Linked DNA regions of Homo sapiens: regions 1 and 3 are each linked to region 2. Evidence: promoter capture Hi-C in 16 types of primary human blood cells and fetal thymus (Javierre and others, 2016). All regions are on one chromosome and are shown on one strand. Each heading gives the region's core, a stretch centred on a gene start or on the middle of the fragment in contact. The rest is flanking DNA. Distances are from core to core; before and after follow the strand shown. Region 1 overlaps PHF8 (PHD finger protein 8). Region 2 holds the start of HSD17B10 (hydroxysteroid 17-beta dehydrogenase 10). Region 3 has its middle 6.6 kb from the start of PHF8.

Region 1 (3,910 bases), core at 823-3,322, 600 kb before region 2:
CTTTTCTAATGTAAGCCTTTAGCTGTTAAGTTTCTTCTCAGCACCAATAGATTTTAATATGTTACATTTTCCCTTTTCATGTAGTTCAAGGCATTAAAAAAAAAAAAAGTTTTTTTTTTTTTTTTTTTTTTTTTTTTTGAGACAGTGTCTCAGTCTGTTGCCCAGGCGGTACTGCAGAGGCAGGATCATAGCTCTCACTGCAGCCTCCAGCTCCTGGGCTAAAGTGATCCTCCTGCTGCCTCAAGGCATTTTTAAATTCCCCTTGAAACTTCCTGTTTGACCCATGAAGTATAGAAGTATGTTGTTTAATTTTGAAGTTTTTGTAGAGTTTCCTGTTATCGTTCTGTTACTGACTTCTAGTTTGATAGTGGTCAGAGAATATACTTTGTATGATTTCAATTCCTTTACATTTATTGAGATTTGTTTTATAGCCCAGAGTCTATCTTGGTAAATGTTTCATGATCACTCGAAAAGAATGTGTATTCTGCCATTTTTGGGTAGAGTGTTCTATAAATGTCAATTAACTACTGTTGGTTAATGGTGTTGCTGAATTCTTCTAATCCTTGCTGATTTTTTCTTTTTTCTTTTCTTTTTTTTTTTTTTTTTTGAGATGGAGTTTCGCTCTTGTTGCCCAGGCTGGAGCGCGATTTGGCTCACCGCAACCTCCGGCTCCCAGGTTCAAGCGATTCTTCTGCCTCAGCCTCCTGAATAGCTGGGACTACAGGCATGTGCCACCACGCCCAGCTAATTTTGTATTTTTAGTAGAGACGGGGTTTCTCCATGTTCGTCAGGCTGGTCTTGAACTTCTGACTTCAGGTGATCCGCCTGCCTCGGCCTCCCAAAGTGCTGGGATTACAGGTGTGAGCCACTGCACTCGGCCTACTCATTCATTCATTCATTTATTTTTGAGACAGGGTCTCTATGTCACCTGGGCTGGAGTGCAGTGGTTTGATCATGGTTTACTGCAGCCTCAAATTCCAGGGCTTAAGCAATCTCCTCATGCTTCAGCCTCTACAATAGCTGAAACTGCAAGCATGTGCCACTGTGTGCCCTAATTTTTAAAATTTTTTGTGTGGGGAGGGTGTGGGTGTAGGTTGGTGGTACCTCCCTTTGTTGCCTGGGATGGTCTTGGACTTCTGGCTTCAGATGATCCTCCCACCTCAGCCTCCCAAAGTGCTGGGATTACAGGCATGAACTACTGCTCTTGGCCCGAGTTATCTCTGTATTGCTTTTTTCAGTACTTGCTCTAGGTATTACATTATACATATAACTTACCATAAGCAACTGCTCTTGACATTTTACCAGTTTGATTGAAGAGTAGAAACTTTACTTTTCTTTTTCCTTTTTTTTTTTGAGACAGAGTCTCACTCTGTCACCCAGGCTGGAGTGCAATGATGTGGTCTCGGCTCACTGCAACCTCTGCCTCCTGGGTTCAAGCGATTCTCCCACCTTAGCCTCCCGAGTAGCTGGGACTACAGGTGTGGTCCACCATAGCCGGCTAATTTTTGTATTTTTAGTAGAGACGAGTTTTCACTATGTTGACCAGGTTGGTCTCGAACTCCTGACCTCATGATCTGCCCGCCTCAGCCTCCCAAAGTGCTGGGATTACAAGCGTGAGCCACCATGTCCGGTTGAAACTTTACTTTTCTTTATATGCCTTAATGCTCTTTTGTTTATAATCTAATTAATCGTTTTGTTGTTGTTGAGACAGAGTCTTGCTGTGTTGCCCAGGCTGGAGTGTAGTGGAACAGTCACGGCTCACCTGCAGCCTAAACCTCCTGGGCTCAAGTGATCCTCCCACCTCAGCCCCCCACCCCCCAGTAGCTGGGACTACAGGCATGCACCACTATGCCTGGCTGATTTTTTTTTTTTTTTTTTTTTTTTTTGAGACGAAGTCTCGCTCTGTCGCCCAGGCTGGAGTGCAGTGGCGTGATCTCGGCTCACTGCAACCTCCGCCCCTCCAGGTTTAAACAATTCTCTGCCTCAGCCTCCAGAGTAGCTGGAATTACAGGCGCCCGCCACCACGCCCAGCTAATTTTTTGTATTTTTAGTAGAAACGGGGTTTCACCATCTTGGCCAGGCTGGTCTTGAACTCCTGACCTCAAATGATCCACACGTCTCGGCCTCCCAAAGTGCTGGGATTACAGGCATGAGCTACTGTGCCCAGCCTACTCATTCTTTTAGGATAAGTGTTGGCAACAGATACGTTTAGTTTTCCTTAATCTGAGAATATCTTGATTTCCCTTGAATTCTTAGGGGATCTTTTCACTTCATATCGAACTCTGGGTTTCTAGTTCTTTTATCTCAGCGCTTGAAAACTGTTCTGCTACTTCCTTTTGCCCTCCATGGTTTCTGATGAGAGAGCCTCTGTCATTCAAATTGGTGTTCTCCTTGAGGTAATGTGTCATTTATCTCTCATTGCTTTCAGGATTTTTCCTTTGTCTTTTGCTTTTAGGAATTTGATTAAGCCATGTCTTAGTGTGGATTTGTTCCGGTTTGTCTTTTGTTGTAGTCCTGTAGGTTGCTGAGGCTCTGTTCATTTTTTTTCCAATCTGTTTTCTTTCTGTTGTTCAGATTGGATAATTTCTATTGTTCTATCTTCAACTTACTGATTCTTTTCTCTGTTTTCTCCATTCTGCTGTTGAATTTTCATTTAAGTTACTAAAGAATTTTCATTGTTACTGTATTTTTCAGTTCTAAAAATTCTGTTAGATTCTTTTCTATATCTTCTATTTGTTTGAAGAGATTTTCTATTTTTTGTTGACACTTTCTTTTTTTTTTTATTTGAGACAAGAGTCTAGCTCTGTGGCCTAGACTGGAGTGCAGTGGTGCAATCTTGGGTCACTTCAACCTCCACCTCCTGGGTTCAAGTGATTCTCCTGCCTCAGCCTCCCAAGTAGCTGGGATTAAAGGCACATACCACCATGCCTGGCTAATTTTTGCTGACACTTTCTATGTATTTATTTATTTTATTATGATGATGATGATTTTTTTCTGAGATGGAGTTTCACTCTGTTGCCCAGGCTGGAGTGCAATGGTGCGATCTCGGCTCACTGCAACCTCTGCCTCCCTGGGTTCAAGTGATTCTCCTGCCTCAGCCTCCCGAGTAGCTGGGATTACAGGCACATGCCACCACGCCCAGCTATCTTTTGTATTTTTAGTAGAAATGGGGTTTCACCGTGTTGGCCAGGCTGGTCTCGAACTCCTGACCTCGTGATCTGCCCACCTCAGCCTCCCAAAGTGCTGGGATTACAGGCATGAGCCACTGTGCCCGGCGACACTTTCAATTTATTCATTTGTTTCAGGCATGTTCTTAATTGCTCATTGAAACATTTTTATGATGGCGCCTTTAAAATTCTTAAATAATTCCAACATCTGTGTCATCTCAGTCTTAACATCTGTTGATTTTCTTTTCTTATTCGAGTTGTGATTTTCCTTGTTCTTGGTATGACAAATAATTATTTTAATTATATTCTGGACATTTGGGGCATTATGTCACGAGATCCTGGATCTTATTTAAGACTTCTGTTTTTGCAGGCCTTCTCAGACACTGCGCTCCGGTGGCAGAAAGGGGGTACCACTTCATGACTGCCAGGTGGGGGTGGAAGTACAGGTTCCCCACTTGGTCTTTGGTGCTATCCACCACCTGCTAGGTGGGTGGATCCTGCTGTCTCTAGTCGGTCTGCTTTCTTCCCTTCACCTTTCAGAGTTTTATGTTTGTTTTGTATATATTGTCCAGGGTTTTTAGCTGTACTTGGAGGGATAGGGAGGAGTGCATCTACTTCATATTGTTCCAGAACCAGCAGTGATAGGTTAAATAATGTGCCCAAAGCTACACAGACAGCTGGACCACAGATCAAACCTGGGTCTCCTCTACTTTCACTGTAGAATACAGTATTATAGACAATAT
Region 2 (3,817 bases), core at 1,125-3,624:
AGTTCAACACCAGACTGGCCAACATGGTAAAATCCCATCTCTACTAAAAATACAAAAATTAGCCAGGCGTGGTGGCCCATGCCTGTAATTTCAGCTACTCTGGAAGCTGAGGCAGGAGAATTGCTTGCACCCAGGAAGCGGAGGTTGCAGTGAGCCAAGATGCGCCACTGCACTCCAGCCTGGGCAGCGGGAGACTCCATCTCAAAAAAAAAAAAAAAAGCGGTAGAGGGGAAGAGATCCAAGACAACTCGAGAACATGGTCAGAGAGAGAAAAGATGGTGTGTAGATGCTGGGGAGGGCAGGAGGTTATTCCAGGGAATGACAAGTGCAATAAGGTGGCCTGGACAGGTGGTTAAAGTAGAGAGGAGGTGAAGGTTCCCGGAGTTGGGCAGGTGAAAGAATCATGAAACTGTGCCTGGAAATTCTTCCAAGATTAATTCATTAATTCATTTATTTCACACATTTGTTTTAAGTGTCTTGTACACGCCAAGCAGTGTTCTCGGCATTAGGTGAACCAGCTGGACAAGCCCCTGGTGCCATGGGGCTTACCTTCCAGCAGGGGGAGAACTACACAAACAAGGCCAGGTTAGCGGAGCATGCAGGCTCACAAGCCTGTAGGCACAATCCTGCAATGCCAAAACTTCTGAAAAGCATAAGGTTGTTTTTTCATACTTTGGAGCCCAAACTCAATAGATGACAAAACCTGACCTGAAGTAGTGTGAGGCTATTTATAGTCTTTATTCACACTTGGTGTGAATTTTCATACCTTTCACTTCAGAAATATTAATATTTCATTACGATGCTCCAGGCTTTTCTCAATAGTTATATAATATAGACTATACAAAAAGTTATGTTTGACTAGTTTTTTTAAAGAGTTATGTAATATAAATTACATGTCTTCCTTTCTCAAATTGAAAAAAACTCTGAATTCCACAGCACATCTGGCCCTAAGGTTGGAAAATGGATTACGGACATGCAAGTGCTATGAAGATAATTCAAATATGCAATGGGATAGTGTCTAGGTGGCTACAGTTTGAATATTTAGGGAGGACCCCTCTGGGAAGGTGATATTTAAGCTTAGTTCTGAATGAAAAAAAATAAAAGCAGTCATGCAAAGATCAGGGGAGAGCATTCCAAGCAGAGGGAGCAGCTAATGCAAAGATGAACACAAAGGAGGCCACTGTGGCTACAGCATATTGGGCCGGATGAAGAGTGCTATAAATTGATGGAAGCACTTCATGTAGATAGGAAAATTGTGAGACCGGTGTGCTAAATCCTTTGGTAAATACGGTGTAGTGATTATGAGTGTGGTGGCTGTCAACAACTAGAAGGCCTGGAGGGGAATCTTCCTGGGTGAGAAAGCAAGTGGGGGGAGATATTTCAGATAGAGAAAACATAAAGCAGTTCTGAGGCTGAAATGGTGGGCTAAGATTTATGGCCTGAAGACCTTGGTTTGAGGAAAAGTATAGAAGGAAGACAGATTAGATATCTGGGCTCAAGACTCTAATGACATAGCTTCTGGAAGCTGCCTGAAAGATGTTCTAGGATGACAAAGACCTGGGTCTTAAATAATAGTCTCTGGTTGAAGTCCAATCTGCAGTGTGTGATCTGGGCTTTTGGACTTAAATTAGACAAAGATAGAGGAGAGTAGCAAAGCCTGAACTGATGAAAGATGTTTTTGCCTCTTTAGGTTTGTGCTTCTCAGCAGCTGTCCTAGAATGTCTGTCTCCAAGCATCTCTCTTAGCGGCTTTCCACATTCATCTCTCTGTGATCCTACCTGGCATCTCTCTTCCTATCTCGGCCTCAACATATTTCTCTTTACATGGCTCTCTCTCTCTCTAACTCAGACTCCTCATCTTTGGATCTCCTTGTCTGAGTGTCCCAGAATCTGGTTCCGTCCATTCGTCTGTGTCTGTACTGTAATTCTCTTTCTCCACCTGGACTGTGCCCTCCTGGAAGGCATGAATCTTTTATTATTCCGCTGGGTATCCCAGGTGCCCCGCACACCGTCTAGCATATAGGAGTCTCAAATACATTCATACTTGAATTAAGACTTTTTCAGAGGAGAAAGGCATCCGTTCTCAATATCCACCCCTCTTCCCCCACGCGGAGCAGGCCACTTGCCAAAAGGCCAGCTAGAGAGTAGGGCGAGGGGTGTTGTGGTATTGTACTTCTGCTATTGGTCTCTTTCCCCAGTTGAAATAACTCTGGGGATACCTTAGCAGGCGGAATCCGCCCTCTGGCCAAAGGACTAGCGTACCAGGCCACGCCCCCACGTCTCATGCGGCAGCGGCAGACGCCCCGGCCCGTCGCATCCGCCCCTTCCGCCGCTTCGCCTCGGCCAATCAACGAGCGCCCGCGCCCCCATCCCCATCCCGTGGAGTGGCCGGCGACAAGATGGCAGCAGCGTGTCGGAGCGTGAAGGTAGAAGGTTCTTTGCCTCTGTTGCTTGCCTTCCTTTACGGGCCGGGACAGCGCGGCCGTGGAACTAGGAGAAAGAGATCGGTTTCGAGGGAAAGGGTCATGCTTATGTAGGCCTGGTATTGTGGCCGTTGGGCTCAAGAGGTGAAAGTCAGCACTCCGCGGCGCATCTGTCTGTCTGTCTGTCTGTCTATCTATCTATCTATCAATCATCTATCTATCTATCGTCACGGGACGGGCTGTCTGGGGATGAGATCCCTTCTGCCCCCGAGGTCCCAACGCTGAGGAGAAGCAGCACACCTAGTTTACCCGCAGGGGTGACCACGACCTCTCCCCTCCCCCCTTCTCCTCAGAAGCCTGGAGAACAGGCAGGCGACAGCGTGGGGATGGTCTGGGCAATGTAACAGCTGACCCTGACCATGTCCCTTTTGACAGGGCCTGGTGGCGGTAATAACCGGAGGAGCCTCGGGCCTGGGCCTGGCCACGGCGGAGCGACTTGTGGGGCAGGGAGCCTCTGCTGTGCTTCTGGACCTGCCCAACTCGGGTGGGGAGGCCCAAGCCAAGAAGTTAGGAAACAACTGCGTTTTCGCCCCAGCCGACGTAAGTGGGGTCACCTCTCCTCTCCCAGGGTGTGCATGAGGTCACCAACACCGGCCTGGGAACCTGTGGGGGTCCCTCCCATAAGGGTCTCCTCTATGGGGGCGGTAGACCCATCTCCTTGTCTCTTTTGGCCTGAGCCTTCAAGCACTGTGGGACCACCTGTGATAAGGATTCTCTAAAGCTGGGATTCACAACAATGAGGATGGGGATTGGACGTAACAATCTCCTGGAGGAGTTATGTATGGTTTGAAAATGCATTTTGTGCCTTGTAATTTTATATTTACAAAGTCAAAAAACTTGTTTTCATGAAACAAACTACAGAAAGTGAAACTTGATGAAATCATCTTAGCAGGTAAGGATACAAAAAAGCTAGTTTATCTTCCTATCAATAATTCTCACAAGAGGGTTATTTTTTATTTTTATTTTTGAGATGGAGTCTCGCTCTGTTGCCCAGGCTGGAGTGCAGTGGCACAATCTCAGCTCCTTGCAACCTCCATCTTCTGGGTTCAAGCGATTTTCCTGCCTCAACCTCCCAAGTAGCTGGGATTACAGGCACCTGCCACCACGCCCAGCTAATTTTTTTTTTTGTATTTTTAGAAGAGATGGGGTTTCACCATGTTGGCCGGGCTGGTCTTGAACTCCTGATCTCACGTGATCCGCCCGCCTCGGCCTCCCAAAGTGCTGGGATTACAGGTGTGAGCCACTGCACCCAGCCTCACAACAGGGTTGCATTAGTGCTCTGATCCACAGCAATTAAGAATCTTCAGGAGCATGTGAATTTATCAAGAAGGTATT
Region 3 (4,270 bases), core at 635-3,134, 620 kb before region 2:
ACTGAGGTACCAGGTTCATCTCACTGGGGAGTGCTGGACAGTGGGTGCAGGACAGTGGGTGCAGCACACCGTGCATGAGCCGAAGCAGGGCAAGGCATCGCCTCACCTGGGAAGCGCAAGGGGTCAGGGAATTCCCTTTCCTAGTCAAAGAAAGGGGTGACAGACGGCACCTGGAAAATCAGGTCACTTCCACCCTAATACTGCACTTTTCCAACGGGCTTAAAAAATGGCACACCAGGAGATTATATCCCGCATATGACTAGACCAATAACAGGCTCTGAAATTGAGGCAATAATTAATAGCTTACTAACCAAAAAAAGTCCAGGACCAGATGGATTCACAGCCGAATTCTACCAGAGGTACAAGGAGGAGCTGGTACCATTCCTTCTGAAACTATTCCAATCAATAGAAAAAGAGGGAATCCTCCCTAACTCATTTTATGAGGCCAGCATCATCCTGATACCAAAGCCTGGCAGAGACACAGCAGAAAAGCGAATTTTAGACCAATATCCTTGATGAACATTGATGCAAAAATCCTCAATAAAATACTGGCAAACCGAATCCAGCAGCACATCAAAAAGCTTATCTACCATGATCAAGTGGGCTTCACTCATAGGTGGGAATTGAACAATTAGAACACATGGACACAGGAAGGGGAACATCACACACCGGGGACTGTTGTGGGGTGGGGGGAGGGGGGAGGGATAGCATTAGAAGATATACCTAATGCTAAATGACGAGTTAATGGGTGCAGCACACCAACATGGCACAGGTATACATATGTAACAAACCTGCACGTTGTGCACATGTACCCTAAAACTTAAAGTATAATAATAATAAAATTTAAAAAAAAAGTTTTTTTCCTAGGCCGGGCTTGGTGGCTCACGCCTATAATCCCAGCACTTTGGGAAGCCAAGGTGGGCAGATCACTTGAGGCCAGAAGTTGGAGACAAGCCTGGCCAACATGGTAAAACCCCGTCTCTACTAAAAATTAAAAACAAAAAAAGCCAGATGTGGTGGTGTGCGCCTGTCTGTAATCCCAGCTACTTGGGCGGCTGAGGCAGGAGAATCGCTAGAACCTGTGAGGCAGAGACTGCAATGAGCAGAGATCACGCCACTGCACTCCAGTCCAGCCTGGGTGACACAGCATGACTCTGTATCAAAAAAAAATTTTGTTTCCTTAAAAAAAATGTTTTTACTTATAAAACATAGTAAGTGTAATAGTAATGCATGAATAATGACAAATTACAGAAAAATATTTTTGTTATAATTTTACATGATTTTTTTTTCTTTTGAGACGGAATCTCACTCTGTTGCCCAGGCTGGAGTGCAGTGGCACGATCTTGGCTAACTGCAACCTCTGCCTCCCAGGTTCAAGTGATTCTCCTGCCTCAGCCTCCCTAGTAGCAGGGATTACAGGTGTGCACCACCACAGCCTACTAATTTTTGTATTTTTAGTAGAGACGGGGTTTCACCATGTTGGCCAAGTCGGTCTGAAACTCTTGACCTCAAGTGATCCACCTACCTCGGCCTCCCAAAGTGCTGGGAATACAGGTGACAGCCACTGTGCCCGGCAAAAATAGTGTTATTAATATATCATGATCATAAGATTTTTCTGACTCCCTTTTCTGCAAATTCAATTATTTGGTCATCAACATTTTTAGCAACTTCATTTTTTTTTTTTTTTTGAGACAGAGTTTCACTCTTGTTGCCCAGGCTGGAGTGCAATGGCGTGATCTCAGCTCACCACATCCTCCCGCTCCCAGGATCAAGTGATTCTCCTGCCTCAGCCTCCCAAGTAGCTGGAATTACAGGCATGTGCCACCACGCCCAGCTAATTTTTGTATTTTTAGTAGAGATGGGGGTTTCACCATTTTGGTCAGGCTGGTCTCGAACTCCCAACCTCAGGTGATCCACCTGCCTCCGCCTCCCAAAGTGCTGGGATTACAGGCATGAGCCACCGGCCGCAACTTCATTTTTTTTTTTTTTTTTTTTGAGACAGAGTTTCACTCTTGTTGCCCAGGCTGGAGTGCAGTGGCGTCATCTCGGCTCACTGCAACCTCCGCCTTCTGGTTTCAAGTGATTCTCCTTCCTCAGCCTCCCGAGTAGCTGGGATTACAGGCACCCACCACCACACCCAGCTAATTTTTTTTGTGTTTTTAGTAGAAATGGGGTTTCACCATGTTGGCCAGGCTGGTCTCGAACTCCTGACCTCATGATCCGCCCACCTCGGCCTCCCAAAGTGCTGGGATTACACGCGTGAGCCACTGTGCCCGGCCACATTCATTTTTTTTTTTTTTTAAGACAGGGTCTCACTTTGTTGTCCAGTCTAGAATGCAGTAGTGGGATCACAGCTCACTGCAGCCTTGACCTCCTGGGCTCAAGGAATCCTCCCGATTCAGCCTCGTCAGTAGGTGGGACTACAGGTGCGCACCACCATGCCTGGCTAATATGTTAATATTTTTATTTTTTATAGAGACGAGGTCTCACTTTGTTGCCCAGGCTGGTCTTTTTTTGTTGTCGTTTTATTTTGTTTTGTTTTGTTTTGAGACAGCATCTCACTCAGTTGCCCAGCCAGGAGTGCAATGGGAGATCATGGTTCACTGCAGTCTTGACCTCAAAAGCTCAAGCAATCCTCCCACCTCAGCCTCCTGAGTAGCTGGGACTTCAGGCACGAACCACTACACCCAGCAAATTTTTTGTTTTTTAATTTTTAGTAGAGATAGGGTCTCACTTTGTTGTCCAGACTGGTCTCAAACTCCTGGGCTCAAGCAATTCCCCGTCTCGGCCTCCCAAAGTGTTGGGAGTATAAGTATAAGCCATTGCGCCTGGCCTGTCTCTTCAATTACAGGGAAGAAACTTTTATATTGTCTTCTTCATTGATATTTTATCTGAAACTTTTCATTTAATGTGTCTTTTGTGACAATCTTTAATTTTAATTTCTATTTCTAAGCCTTTGGATATTTGTTTTGCTGTGTTGCACCAGTTTTTAAAACCAGAGATTCTAAACTCTTTGAAAAATTATAATAATCCTCTCCATACACTTTACTGCAATGTCCATGGGTACTCGTTTATTTCATAATCATTTCCTTGCAAAGTTTACTGCCTGAGTGCCAGCAGTTCCTGTGCCAGTATGCAGGCCAAAGCGTTAATCTTTGTACAGGCCCTGGTGACAGGACAAGCTTGCCTCTCACAACAGGTCTCCTCACTGTTCCTGCACAGAGGCCCTCCTCTCTCCCAGATCTATAGCCACTGCTACCTGTGCTGCTGCTTTTGCTACTGCTGCCACTGTAGTCACTGGCTTGACGTCCCCTCTGGGCCCTGATGTCCCCCTCTGGTGTGTTTCTGCACACCAGGCGGCCTGTCAAACTGCTTGGTGGCATGCACATTGCCTGCAGTTTCCATAGGCTGTGGGTGCTGCCACTTAGCATATCCCTTCTGCTCATGTCCATGATCCATTGTCACAGTGGACTACACTTAGAAAAGACAAGCTCAAAGATAAAATTATCAATTTCAAGACAGCCACAGCATTACATTAAACCAAGCCTAAGGCCCCTTCTAGGAGCAGAGCTCGGTGAACAGGCACGCCCATGAAGCTGGCCCTGGAGGCGTGGGTTGGTGTTCTCCATTGCTTAGTTTGGCACCTGGGGCACCATCCTGCTAGTTTTTATTTCAAGTGTGTGCAAACCACATTTTGTTTCTGTGTTTCAAATTATGCAAAGAACCATTAATTGATTACCTTCCCATTACATTTATACACCAGTTGCTGTTAAATCCACACTAGTGGTATAAAGGAGTGGTTAAGAGCCTGGTCTCTGAGCCTGTATCACCAGGAACCCCTGCTAGGATACAAACTAGCTAAGTGACCTCCAGCAAGTGAATTAAAGTTTCTGTACTCAGCTTCATCATCCATACAATGCTAACAGTATTGATATCTACTTCATATGGTTGTTCTAAGGATTCAGTGACTTAATGCTTGTAGCGAGTTTGTAACAGTGCTTAGCACAGTAAGTTCTCAGATAATGTTATTTAGTATTATTTTGTCTTTTGTTTTTACTGTCCTTGTACTTTCAAGTCTGTTTCAGAGGACACCTGTTTTTCCTCATGTAAGTTTCCCCCCAATCCCCCCTTTTCCACTCATGTGTTTTATAGTTCACTGTAGCCCTCATCATTTTTTTTTTTTACCTCAATAGCTATAACATATATGTAGAGAAATGAATTGGAAAAGATCCTGCTGAGGTTCCCTCTAGAGAGGTAAGCAGGCATTGAA

Evidence for each region. The method cuts DNA at HindIII sites, captures the fragments that hold promoters and counts their contacts. A CHiCAGO score of 5 or more calls a contact.
Region 1: a fragment that was not itself captured here is called in contact with the fragment with the promoter of HSD17B10 in region 2 in 3 of 17 cell types (neutrophils, total B cells and activated CD4 T cells); the score reaches 10.0 in neutrophils.
Region 3: a fragment that was not itself captured here is called in contact with the fragment with the promoter of HSD17B10 in region 2 in 1 of 17 cell types (neutrophils); the score reaches 6.1 in neutrophils.

Annotation. Positions count from the first base shown.
Region 1 is chrX:54,032,800-54,036,709 of GRCh38, reverse strand. All of the region lies in intron 2 of PHF8 (PHD finger protein 8), which reads left to right. Among named protein-coding and RNA genes, the nearest start is that of PHF8, 9.7 kb to the left of the region's middle. The HindIII fragment of the contact is 5,057 bases long and covers 1-3,910 here.
Region 2 is chrX:53,432,927-53,436,743 of GRCh38, reverse strand. HSD17B10 (hydroxysteroid 17-beta dehydrogenase 10) reads left to right here and starts at 2,374. Exons shown (of 6, transcript NM_004493.3): 1 at 2,374-2,425; 2 at 2,858-3,022. The coding sequence starts at 2,399. The HindIII fragment of the contact is 11,572 bases long and covers 1,079-3,817 here.
Region 3 is chrX:54,048,889-54,053,158 of GRCh38, reverse strand. It overlaps a transcript of PHF8 not described here. Among named protein-coding and RNA genes, the nearest start is that of PHF8, 6.6 kb to the right of the region's middle. The HindIII fragment of the contact is 2,601 bases long and covers 584-3,184 here.